Regions from separate parts of the Homo sapiens genome. Here region 2 is linked to region 1. The links are contacts of gene promoters, found by promoter capture Hi-C in human tissues and cell types (Jung and others, 2019). All regions are on one chromosome and are shown on one strand. The core of a region is centred on a gene start or on the middle of the fragment in contact, and the rest is flanking DNA. Distances in the headings are between cores, read along the strand shown.

The links. The method cuts DNA at HindIII sites, captures the fragments that hold promoters and counts their contacts. A contact is called where the count stands out against the background at its distance.
Region 2: a fragment that was not itself captured here is called in contact with the fragment with the promoter of KCNQ3 in region 1 in 2 of the 25 tissues and cell types used here (H1 embryonic stem cells and spleen).

The regions. Positions count from the first base shown.
Region 1 is chr8:132,477,951-132,484,380 of GRCh38, forward strand. KCNQ3 (potassium voltage-gated channel subfamily Q member 3) reads right to left here and starts at 3,145. Exons shown (of 15, transcript NM_004519.4): 1 at 2,197-3,145. The coding sequence starts at 2,582. The HindIII fragment of the contact is 18,452 bases long and covers 1-6,430 here.
Region 2 is chr8:132,526,114-132,532,881 of GRCh38, forward strand. No RefSeq gene overlaps it. Among named protein-coding and RNA genes, the nearest start is that of HPYR1, 32 kb to the right of the region's middle. The HindIII fragment of the contact is 6,947 bases long and covers 1-6,045 here.

The sequences.
Region 1 (6,430 bases), core at 1,895-4,394:
GTGATCGCGGACAAGTGATTTTCTCTCTTGAGGTTTTCATATCTTTATATAACGGAGATAATAATTTCCATCTAATAGTACTGTGTGAGGATTAAATAAAATTAGTACATTTGCATATTTGCATATATATGCATTTGCATATATAGTTCCTAGCTAGGTAACTGACTTTCTTCTCACAAAGTCTTAAATTTTCCTGGATCCTTTTTGGGAAACAGGCTCCAGGTTTTGGCATTATCAAATCTGCTTCCAGGTGATGCAATAATTCTAGAAAAAAATAAAATTGAGGCTCAGTCAGTAACAGCTTTAGCTATTCCCTTCCCCAGACTGGACAAGGCAGGGCTGGAGGTGCTGGCTGGGAAAGGTGGGAAGAGAAGAAAGAGGGAGCCCACATGCTTCCATAGGACCCCCAGGTTTTTCAGTCAGTACGTACTGAACGCGATGTGCATGTGAAAGGACACGTGAATCATTGTATGACTGTGTGCACTCAACGAACTTCTTGTGCCTTTTTTAACTATCACATATTTCAGTATTCACTTCAATTTAACTAAACATATTGCTAGAGACAGAGAGAGGAATGTATTTTAATGCTTTTTTTTCGGCCACCTAAAAAGAGCAAATGAAAGAGCAACAATTGTTAAGCCGTCTCTCCAACCAGACCCCGACCAACACCTGCAAATAGACACACACACACACACATACACACGCACACTCATACAGACACCAACATCCACGTTTCTGGGAAAATGCCCCACTCCCACCCCACCCTTCCTGCTGGTTCCTTAGTTTCCGGGAAGGCACCCTCTCCGGGCTTGGTAACCTCCTTGAAGAAACCTGTTGCTAAGTCTGAGGTCCTGTGTGGACGCCCCCACCTGGTGGCCGAACCTAGAAAAACGTCTCTAACCAAGAAAAACTGGCAGGTAGTGTAACTAACTCCAAGGCTCCTGAGCCCTTCCGACCACATCAGTCATGGGTGAATTGGAGGAGAATAGAGAGGAAAATCCACTGCTAAACGCGTGGGGGAGAGAGGGGGGAGGGGGGGTTGCCAAGGTCATAGGCAATTCCCTGCCAAAACCCTGGTACAGTACAGCTTCCTAGAAGCAGCCATCAGGATGACTAAACCAGAGCCAGAAGGCAGAGCTTGATGGCTGGACGTGCCCTGCCAGCTCCGAGATGGGTGCTGACAGCACAGATTTCCAATCTTGAATGAGGAGCACCCCCACCATCCTCTCCCCCCTCCCAAATACGGGTGGATTTTCCATCCCCAGTGGCAGGTGCAGAGGGAGTTCCTTCTTCCTTCTGGCCATGCATTTACATCGGACTAGCAAGGAGATTCTTTCTAGGAGAACAGTGCCTGGGTGCAAACCTCCAGGCCAAGCCCCTCACATTCCCGGTGCCCTAGGCCAGCCAAAGCAGGAGAAGCAGCAGCGACTGAGGCTGAGGGAATATCGGATCCCAAATCAAGGAGATGTTTCAGCCAAAAGAGTCCCCGGCCCCCTCACCTCCTGGCTCTGTGAAGCCCCAGCCCCTCAGTCTAGGCTTAGACACACACGTTCCCATTCACTTCCCTAAAAGGAATCCTAGAACATGCATTTTGGCCAGTCCCAGCTCCCAGTCAGAGCAGCACCAGGTTCTTCTCTGTACCAGTACCCAGCGATCAGAAGGGTGGCACAAGCAAGCGACACACACACACACACACACACACACACGCTCCCCACTATGGGTGGTGCGCACCCCTCCCATCCCCAACTAAACTCAGTGGCGATCCCAACAGAAGGGATCCACCCGAAACAGAAACACAGAGCTCACGGGAGGACCCGCTTTATCCTCTTCAACCCTCACATTAATTGGAAAAACCCACATAATTATTTTAAGCTTCCAAACCAACACCCCTAGAAGATGTCATAAATGTGCACCCGCGCGCGCACACATCCGCCCAAATCAGCAGGGGAACCACGCTTCGTTTTTTAAGCCCCTAGTGTGGAACACCCGGAGAGCGGCAACACACACACACACACACACACACACACACACACACACACACACCCAGGGAAACGCGTGCTGAGGACGGGCTGGTCTCCCCTTCAGCGGGAAAGCATCCATGGGTCTTAAAGCCCCAGAGACTTCTCAGCTCCAGCCCCGACCCCAAGTCCCCAAGCGCGCCGCCGCCGAGGGCGCCCCGAGCGGCCGGGTACTCACACCAACGCGTGGTAAAGCAGCGCCCAGCCCCGCGGTCTCTCCAGGGCGTCGTAGATCAAAGTTTGGATGCGCCGGTACTTGGCGTTGTTTCTCTTGACTGGGCGGCTCAGCGGGGTCTTGGCCAGGAGCCCGATGCCCTGCGGGGTCCTCCGCTGCCCCTCGTCGCGGCCGCCGCCCTCCAGCAGCAGGGTCCCGTCTTTGTCGGCTCCGGCCCCGAGCGCCAAGGTGACTTGCTCCACGTCGCCGGGCGCCAGCCCCACTTTCCGCTCCTCGTCGCCGGCCGCCGCCGCGTCCCCTCCGGCTGGGTTAGCCGCCCCGCCGCCTCCGCCGCCCCCGTCGCCGCCGCCGCCAGCCGCCCCCGCCGCCCTGCGCGCCTTGAGCCCCATCTGCCTCGCCCCCGCCGGCCGCTTCGCCTTCTCCGCTGCTGCTCTGGGAAGAAGGGGCGCTCGGGGTGCGTGAACGAGGCGGCGGCGGCGGCTGCAAGCCCGGGAACTCCAATGCCATGATCCGCGCGCCCCTCCCCACCCCCCCCCAAAAGCAGGCAAAGGCGGGCCCCCTGGGGGGCAGGGGAGGCCAGGCAGGGGGTCAGGGGGTCACATCCCGCGCGGGTCAGCCGCAGGACCCCGAGGGTCGCGGGCCGGGGGCTGCGGAGAAGCTGGGAGGGCGCGCGAGGCTGGCGCGGAGGCGCTAGGGCGCGCGGCGGCGGGAGCCTGGAACCGGCGCTCCGGGGCGGCGGCGGCGGCGGCGGCACCCAGGCCGGCGAGCCCAAGACAGCATCGCAGTTTATTTACAAGCCCGGTGCCAGCCGCCCTCCCGCCCGCCAGCCACACGCGCCGCCGCCGCCGCCTCCTCCCTCCTCCGCGCTCCCACCCGCGCCCCTCCCCGCCCGTTCCAGCCTCAGCCTGTCAGCAGCAGCAGCAGCGAGCGCGCCGCGGGCCGAGAGCACGCCGCGTCCCTCCCTCCCTCCTTCCCCGGGGTGGGGCCCCATTGTCCCGCCCCGTCGCGGCGGGAGGCCCGGGCGGCGGCGCCCCGCCTCTTCCCGCCGACCCCCACCGCTGATTGTCTGGGGACCCAGGATCGCCTGGGCTACCGCCGCCCCCGTTGCAACCAGGCAGTGCGCCAGGCGGCTGCAGAGCCCGGCTCCTGGAGCTCCCGTGGGCGTTGGGGCTTCCCCTGGATGGGGCGTGACGGCGGGCAGTTGGGGGAAGAAGAGGAAGGGAGGAGGGACTGGGGGGTTGTCGCCCACCAAACATTGGCTCTGTGGTTGCAGCTTTGTGAATTTCCCTCACCCCCTACCCCTGCTCCTCGGCTTCAGAGGTAAAAGCCAAGTTGTCGGGTTGGTCAAGGCCGGGCGCACCGCGAACGCACCTGCTCTGTGGTAGCGAAGCTCGTGACTCCCTCTTCCCTCTTCCCTCTTCCCTCTTCCCTCTAGTTCGTGGTTCATGGTGGATGCCGCGGCCCTCTCCTCCCCCAATCTTTGAATAGCACCTTCACCTGTCTGGGTGGGCAAAGGACTGAAGAAATGCAGTCAGAATCTTTGATTCCTGCTTTGCTCCCGACTTGCACCCAAGCCAGTCATTCCCTCTCTGGTCCAAATTTCAATTCAATCAACCAATCTGTAACCCCTCGTGAGCTTCCCTGGCAAAGGGTAGTGATCTCTGTCCTGAAGATATGAGGTCTCTGCACTCCTAAGACCTCCGTCCTAGCCGGTGGAAGACAATGAAAAGACAAATTTTAACAGTAGAATTTCCGATATTGGTAAATAGTATGTGGTAACAAATTAGAGTGCTGCGCTATAGTGACTGGGGGAGTCACTCTAAACCGGCTGGTCGTGGAAGGCCTTATTGTGGAGGTGATGCTTCGAGGTGAGACCCTAATGACAAGCTGGGAGCAACTATGTAAATGTCCAGAGAGCCCTCCAAACAGCAGAACAGCGGGTGCGGAGGGGAAGGGTGGCTTGAGCTTAATGAGAGTAGGCCACAGGCAAAGGCTAGATCTTGTAAGACACTGACAAAGGACAGGAGCATCCTGCACTTCTTCCATGCCCACCGCCATCGGGGAAGCCTCCATTCCTGCTGCCCCATGGCATCTGTGGCCTCCTTTCCTTCCCACTCTCTCACCTCATGTCTGTCAGCTGGGGTGAGAGACATGGGGTGAGGGGAGACCCTGTGAACAAGGCCGAGGATCTATCCCTAGTGTATAAGAAAAGAGGAATCAGACCTGCAAGAACACCAGCTCTGGATTTGCCTGGAGAAGTTGGCCAAGGAGAGCATAGGAGACAGGGAAGGGAAGAAGGAAGGGAAGGGAGTAGGAATGTATGGGCTGGGGCAGGGGAAGGGTCAGAGAACCACCACCCTATAGAATGACTATCAAAGGGGAGAACCTCAAAAGAGGTCTCCAAATCAAGAAGGGAGGAGTTTCCAGAGGAAGTTAAACTGTAAGACTGAAATCATTAAAACAGTGTGGGATCGGTACAAAAATAAACTCTCAGTGCAACAGAATTCTTTGTCCAGAAACAGACTCTAGCATGGGAACTTAATATTAAACGGGAAGAGTTCATGACAAGAACCCCAGGGGAAAAGGCTGTTCACTGGTTGATGGGTTTTGTGAGGAATTATAGGAAATAGCATATGGAAACGTGGCAGTGCCCAGTAGGACCCCTGTACATCCGTGAATAGATAAATGCTCAGCAGTGAGTTGGAGTAAGTAACCAGTCCAGCAGGCTCTGGAAAGGAGAAAAAGCCCAAGGAAAGGGAATTGCTTGGATCAGAATATCTCCAAATGGGAGCTGGGCACTGCAAAGCCTCCTCCTGCCCATGTGTTAGCCCTGCCATGCCCAACACACCAAACTCACGTGTATTCTTCCTGTCCTACTCCCATCCCAACTAACCAGGAAACAATCTTGCCCTTTATCTCTGAGCACCTTTTCCAAAGTCGCTGTTCTCCCTCAGTCTCTTCCTGTTTTGTTCATTCATTACATTTATCACTGCCAAAAATGATCGCATTTACATTCTGTTTACTTGTTTACTGTTATCTTACTAAACAAGAGCAGGGACTAAGCATCCTAGTTTTGAATCCTGGAAGTGTGTCTGTCATATCACAGGCTCTCAATCTGTGTTGGCAGCATGAATAAATGATGAATAAGCGAATGAAGAGTGTAAAGCTCTCAGCACAATGCCTGGCACACAAGCATTCCATGTATGTTTGTGGGTGAGATTTTTGTTTGGTTTCGTTTTACCATTGTGAAAGTCTTCATACTTAGGAAGTCTTGCTGCTCCTTTATGCTCCTTGCAACTTAAGAAACATGATAAAAACATTTTGACAGTATTTAAAATAAAAAGGCTCACTAGATAAACATAAAAAGAAGACGAGTCAAGGAATGTGGAAAGAAGATGTGAGAATTTATTATTGTGCAATTAATCAAAAGTTCAGATTCCCAGAATGACAGTTTGGATCCTCAGATACATGAAAAGACTTCTATTTTGATGGGAGCTTCAGACTGTCAAGTATTACAATTTAAGATAAGGTGCAGGGGCTATTTGCATGCCTCCCATAAAAGATGAGGTTAAGTCAATAACAAATTCATAACTGAGCCAATTAAACCCAATGATAGGGAAACTGCCAGGTAGTTGAGTCTAGTAAATGGAGTTGCTTTGATGGTTTTATAATCCAATGGCAAGCAGTGTTTAGGCTTCTAATAGGGGCTTTGGAAATGTCATCAAAAGCAGGGTGTGCACTGAGTGTCATTGGAGGAACTGTGTAATCACAGCGCTCCACAGCACAGGTTTCAGCTAAAGAAAATCAAACATCCTATATCCCACTGGAAGGAAACTTCTCAGAGGCCTAAAGTCCCTAAGAGCCTCAGGTTCCAGCTGAACATGGCACCAAAGCAAAGAGTTAGCGACACACTATCAACAAGGACAACAATGAGGCATTCCTCTCCTGGCTTTGAGCCCCAGCTCAAAGTGTAACATTGAAAACCCACCCACCTGCTTCCCCTCCTCCATGCCTTAGCTTTCATTTTTGCTTTTCTCTTTAGCTGGTCTTCATCTCAATGTATAGGCGAGATGTTCAGGTAAACTCTCTCTCCCTTGCAGGTGAGGCACTTCCTGGGAATGAGTAAAAAGAGAGAGACAAAGGGCTTTCTCTGAGCCTACATTTCTGCCTCTGTAAATCCAGGGTTGTAAGCATCTCATGATGAGGTGATATTCCAGTGATGGTTATTATGACTGTC
Region 2 (6,768 bases), core at 1,322-3,821, 48 kb after region 1:
CCAGCCTAAAGAGGTGCCCCCAGGTTTCTCTGGTCTGTGGTTTCCCTTGCTGCAGCAAGTTAATAAGGCCAACTTTGATAGTTTCAGGTACATTTATGATGGTCTGTGTCTACGGGTTCTTTGCTAGACTTTTCACACCTAATACATTTTGTTTGGTTGGTTGGTTGGTTTTGTTGTTTTGTTTTGAGACAGAGTCTCGCTCTGTCGCCCAGGCTGGTATGCAGTGGTGTGATCACAACTCACCGAAGCCTCGACCTCCATGGCTCAAGCGATCCTCCTGCAGTGGCACCCTGAGTAGCTGGAACACAGATGTACACCACTATGCCCAGCTACTTTAATGATTTATTTATTATTTTAGAGATGGGGTCTCCCTATGTTGCTCAGGCTGGTCCCGAACCGCTGGACTCAAGCTATCCTCCTACACTCCCTCTCAGTGTTGGGATTACAGGCATGAGCCACCACACAGGTGTATTAGCCCAGGGCTAATACATGGTTTTAAGGTGCCATGCAATGTGGTAAGTGATGCTTCCTCCCTCTTTGTAACTCCTTAAAGCTTTGAGTGAGGGGTTTGTAGGTGGTTGAGTTTCACCCCAGGATCAACATAGCATGGTATAGAACAAGACAGAGTAAGAAGCCCAGTGATCACAGTAACAAGGGAATTTAAACTATTCAAACTGTTGCATGGGTTTCTGATTTCCATGGACCATGTGATTGTGATGGGGGTGGGTATCAAATCAATCTTATGGGAGGAGATCCTGCTGCTAATCTTCTGACACTTATTGTCTTCCGCCTCCTTTTAGCATCTCCCCTGAGTTTATTGGACCCATGGCTAACCAGCTAGAGGTTATATTTTCAATCCTCCCATGAATCTAAATGTGTCCATAAGCCTTGGTCTGGCCAAGGGGATAGAAGCACAAGAAATCTGCATAAGTTTCAGGTCAAGTCTTTAAGATGGAAGGCTCGTTGCCTTCATTACCTCTTTTTGCTTCTGTCCCACAGGCTGCAACATGCAACTGGTGTAGGTGAGTCAGCTTCGACCAGGGGGACAAAAGCAACAACCTGGAGAATGCTGGAGGATCCAAACAGAAGGGTTTGGTTTCCTCCCCATCCTGGCGGAGCATCCTCCTCTGCCCGTTCATCCCCTGCTATCCACCTTCCTCAGTGCATTTTGCGTGTAAGAAAGGGAGAAATTAACTTTAAAAAAACGTTTCTGAGTTTGCTTATCTCTTTCTCAGAGCATCTTAGCTTATGCTCTATTCAACAAATCTAGATCTGAAAGGATTTGGAGACCTGAGCTCATAACTAGGCTGTGTTACAGGCCCAGAGAAGCTAGATAATTTGTGCAAAATCATTTAACTCATGTGACCGAACCCCCAGGCAGGCACCTCTGTCCCCAGTCTGTTTCTGAATAGTCTCCAGGAGTCATGTTCTCCTTCAGATTCTCATTTTCTCTCTCTCTCTCTCTCTCTCTCTCTCTCCCTCTCTCACACAGAGGCATTTGGACTTCTTTGCCATCCCCACATCCTCCACTAAAAGCATCAGCTCCAGAATTCAGACATGTCCATGATGTGTTCATGCAGAGTCCTCAACTCAGTGTGGCTTGTGAAAGAAGCTCTGTGGGGATCGCCCTGGCTTCCCTGGAAATACTAGGATCACTGAGATGGCAGGTTCCACTGAGATATTACACTCAGTTGCCTATAAAAACGTCACTCTTAAAACAGAAGTAGAAAATGTCACACTTTCAAGTCATAAACCTAGTTTTAAAATATAAGAAAGAAAAAAAAAGACAAAGAAGCTCCAGCCCCCCACAACGGAGCTCTGCACCTCTGTGAATGTGTGAGACCAAGGCATTGTCTTTGGGGCAGGATGAGGACACTTGAAGAAATGTCTCACGATGGGGAAGTTAAGTGGAAAATACAGGCTTCAATGGTTTAACAACAATCCCCTTTTCTGGCATATGGAGCTGGGCACTAAAAAGCACTCCATCCCTCTTAAGCTAGTGGACAGAGAGCCACACTTGTCCCCACTTCCAACCTTCCTCTAGCACCACGACGAACTGGATCTCTGGTGACTGTATGTGATTGTTTTCTCTAGGAGGATGCTACAGACCAAATAATCACTTTCATCACTTTGAAGTTATGCAGCTTCTATGTTCTATGGTCATTTCCCCCAGGATAGAGGAGAGTGTTATATGGGGTTATTATGAAAACCCTTTATTTGGGTGGTAGGATTGGGATCCTGTTTTCAAGAAGTGAGCTCCTCCAAGAATGAGGCACCAAGCTGTGCAGACCCATCTTTGACATTTCTTCCTCACATCCTCTTACAGGGTGGCCTGACAGGGTAGGCAGAGCTTGAGCTTGCATCTTATAACACCAGGGTTTAATTCTAAGCTCCTGCTAGCTAACTCAGTGACCATAGATAAATCAGTTGACCTCCTTAGCCTCAGCTTACACATCAGTAAATTGAGTATAATATAGTCCAGGGTCATTGAGAAAATCAGAAGCAAAACTAGTCATAGCCGACATTTACAAAGTGCTCCCTATTTGCCAGGCACAATTCTATTATTTACAGGAGATCTTTCCTTTCTTCCTCATAGCAAATCTAGAAGGTGGTGTCATCATTCTCTGTGGTGCAGATGAAGAAGCAGAGCTTCCAAGGGGTGGAGAAGAAGCTGAAGTGTAGGAAGATTAAGTAATTTCCTAGTGGCCCCCTTGGTCCATGTATCCCTGGCAATCTACCTCAGGAATCTACATTTTTGCCCCCTACGCTCTAGCCACTTGCCTTGCTGATGTCTGTCCTGTGTCTGCCACATTGTCCTTGAGTCTCTGTACAGACCAGATGTCGTTTCCTTCATTAGACACAGGAGGACACTGACACCCAGAGCCGCCTGCCAGGCTCACCCAGTGATAAGTGGCCAATAAGAATCAGTGCCCAGGTATTTCCAAAGCACTTTTCTGTCTATTATTTCTTTTGCCAAAGCCCCACAAGGCAGGTACTGTTATCTCCAACTTAGATAAAACACTTGGAGTACAGAGAGGCCAAATGACTTCCCCAAGGTCTCATAGCCAAGTGGTAGCAAAGTCACAATGCAACCCCCAGTCACCTGACCCTGTCCTAGGACATGGCAGGAAGCACAGGGTATGTCCCAAAGGACAATGCTGTTGTCAGTAAAATCACACACCGATGGAGAGGGTGGACAGGTGTCTCCCTTTATTGTCTCCTGGAAACACTACAAAACACTCCTTTCTGGTGTAGGGAAGTATATCTGGTTAAGCAAGAATTAAGTACTAGGGGTGGCATTACGTATGTGCATGTGAAAGGGGGTGGTCATGCCTGCCTTAGAGAGACAAGGGGCATGTGGAGTAGGGGAGGACAGAATCACATAGAGGACCCCTAGGGAGAGAAAGAGAAAGACAGAGAGAGAGAAATCAGCCTCTCACTATGGGCTCAGAAAGGACCAGAAGACAGCCACTTGTGGGGTGTGTGTGTTTGTGTGTGTGTTTCATGGTCAGAAGGAGGTGCACAGAGTTTATGCTCAAGTCTCATTAGATTTCTAAGCACCTACATAAAATTTATTCATTTCCCTGGAATGATAATTTACTTATTTGCCTCCCCAACCACCCTATTATCTCTGTGATGACAGAGGCTCTGTTTATTTATCTTTGCAGTATTTATTCTCCTAGAGATATTTGCATTTAAAGGAAAGGAAACCCCCAAAGATGCATTTATTTCAAGAACAACTTCTAATAACATCAGTGTTTTGCTTCTTAAAACATACCTAAGGCTTTATCATGTAGAGAGTTGGCCAAAATGTACCTAATAAGACTGAATGCCTGGGGGACATGCAAAGTAGGCCACTGGTGAGGCAAAAGAGCCATGGTCAGAGAAGAAGTTAGGAAGTTCATTCTGAGAATAAGAGGAGGAGGCGTTAGCCTTACTTATGAGCATGCTGACTACACAGAAAATGCTTAAACAGAACATACATTCTGCTTCCATAAGTTTGGTCAAAACCACCTTGAATGTCAGCTGAAAACTGATGTGAGAGAATGTAAATTGCCTGCCTGTGCTGGTCCTATCCTCCCAGTATCACCAAACTGGACATGCATCCATCCAACCAGTACAGCAGAGCCAAATGCTGGCACTGGGATTTGCAGCAAGAGAAAGTGAGGCATTTATTGCAGGGCGCCAAGCAAGGAGAATCAGGGAGTTCATGCTTAAGACCCAAACTACCCAATGGCCTACATGTAATGGTTTTTTTTATTATTTTTTTAGTTGGAGTCTCACTCTATTGCCCAGGCTGGAGTGCAGTGGCATGATTTCAGCTCCCTGCAACCTCCGCTTCCTGGGTTCAAGTGATTCTCCTACCTCAGCCTTCCAAGTAGCTGGAATTACATGTGCACGCCACCACACCCAGCTAATTTTTGTATTTTTAGTAGAGATGGGGTTTCACCATATTAGCTGGGCCGGTCTCAAACTCCTGACCTCAGGTGATCCACCCACCTTGGCCTCCCAAAGTGCTGGATTACAGGCGTGAGCCACCACGCCCAGCCAGGGTTTTTAAAGGCAGGGAGGCAAAGTCGTAAATTAATACATGGAGGCTATCCATTACTTTTACCTAAAAAGGTGGGACATCTCAAAGGGGATGGGGCCCGCAGGTTACGGGTGGATTAAAAGAATTTGATTTGTGTTTAGTTAAACTTTGTCTAAAAACTTAGCATCAGCAGAAAGGAATGTCTCTTTCACCCATTCCTTTGGGTATGACTTCCTCCACGCCCCCAGGAAGATATTTAGAACAAAGACTGAAATTTACAACAAAAAATTTAGTCAACGTTCAATTCTCCATTTCCCTTTATCTGAGGTCTACATGCCAGTGGATGATATTTTCCATTTAGTAGGGGTCTGAGTTTCTGAAAAGTAACTCAGGGACATATGTTAAGATTTTATCTTCAGTTTCTATAGGAAACCAAGCATTTTGTGGCTCTAATATCTTTAGCTATTGTTGTAAGCTACTATTACTTCCTGCTTATTAGGTTGCTAATTTACTTCTCAAGGCTAGCTGGGTGCCTGAAATTTCCCCTGAAGGAACTCAAGATTTTCTTTTTTCTCCATGCCTGGGGGACCACGCAGGCCACTAAGAGGTGCCCCTGCTCTGTATCATCAGCTATCTTACCTTTGAGAAAACTTGTTAACAGTCCTTCCTTGCTGTTCAAGTTCTTTCCCCCTCCCCCGCTCTTTAGTTTCCTTCACTGGGCTTGAGCTGGTAGACCTGTGGATTTCTAATTCCATCCCCATCTTTTTTTTGACCTGTACTAACAGCACCATATGTTATACAAGTTCAACTTCTTACCGTGGCCAGCACTGGTCTGATTTCTTCTGCAGGCTCATTTTATGCTCATTATTTTACCATGAGCTCTCTGCTCCAGGCTTCTGAACTTCCATTATTTCTCCAGATCTAATGCTGGGCCTTCATACATGGCTATGAACAGGTATGCTTCCCCCAGCCTTTACCTGGTTACTCCTATTTACCAGCAAATGCCACCTCCTGGGAGGCAATATAGCATTATGGTTCTAAATGTGGATTCTTGAAATAGCCTGGGTTGTCCCTAGTTCTGCCCTCACCCAGGTGTGGACCCTCCACAGCTGTTCTTTCTCTAAGAGGTCCCTGTTCTGGGGGCATCTCTGCAGGTGTGAGAGCCAGCTTCCCCCACCCCTTTTAAAACAATAACAGCTTTATTGGGATATCATTCACATACCATTACAATTCACTCTTTTAAAACGCACAATTCAATAGTTTTTAGCATATTCAGGGTTGTGCAACCATTACCACGATCAATTTTAAAGCATTTTCATTATTCCCCCTCAAAAAATTCCACACCCATTAGCAATCACTCGCCTCCCCACTGTCAACTCTAAGTAGCCACTAATCGACCTTCTGTCTTTATAGATTTGTCTATTGTGGACATTTTATATAAATGAAATCATACAATATATGTGGTCTTTGGTGACTGACTTATTTCACTTAACATAATGGTTCCAAGGTTGGCCCGTGTTGTAACAGGTATCAGTACCTCATTCTTTTTTTATTGTTGAATAACCATTGCATGGAAATACCATCTTTTATTTATTATCATCAGTTGGTTGGACATTTGATTTGCTTCCACTTTTTGCTGTCATGCATAATGTTATTTGGACATTCATGTACAAATTTTTGTGTGGACATATGTTTTCAATTTTCTTGAATATATACATAGGAGTAGAAATTCTGGGTTGTACGATAAGGCTATGGTTAACCTTTAGAGCAACTGCCAGATTGTTTTTCAATGGTCCCAGGACTCTTTGTTCCCAGACCCACTCCCAGTTCTTCCTCTGCTAGTCTCTAAGTGGCAGGAGGGCTGACCCCTGCAGGCTGTTTGTCAGCTGGAAGCCCGGAGGGTGAGAGGAAGGAAGAAACCGAGGCATTTCTCTCTTCCCTCTTATTTCCTTCCACTCCAGCCTCAGGCAGCCTCTCCAACAATCCTGTGTCTCTCTCCTCATGCTGGCCCTCTCTAATTCCAGCTTTCCGTGTGTGACACTAGCTCTTAGTTTCCATAACATACCCTCCTTTTCTCTCCCTCTATCTGGGGAGTGCTGGGTGCTTTCTGCTGGTGAAAATCCCCTGTTGGGCCTCTCATTCCTTTCATCACTGGTGTAACTAACCTGAATTCTCTTGTAATAGTTACAGCTGTTTCTGTTTTCTAGCCTATATTTGACCCTTAAACAATACAGGGG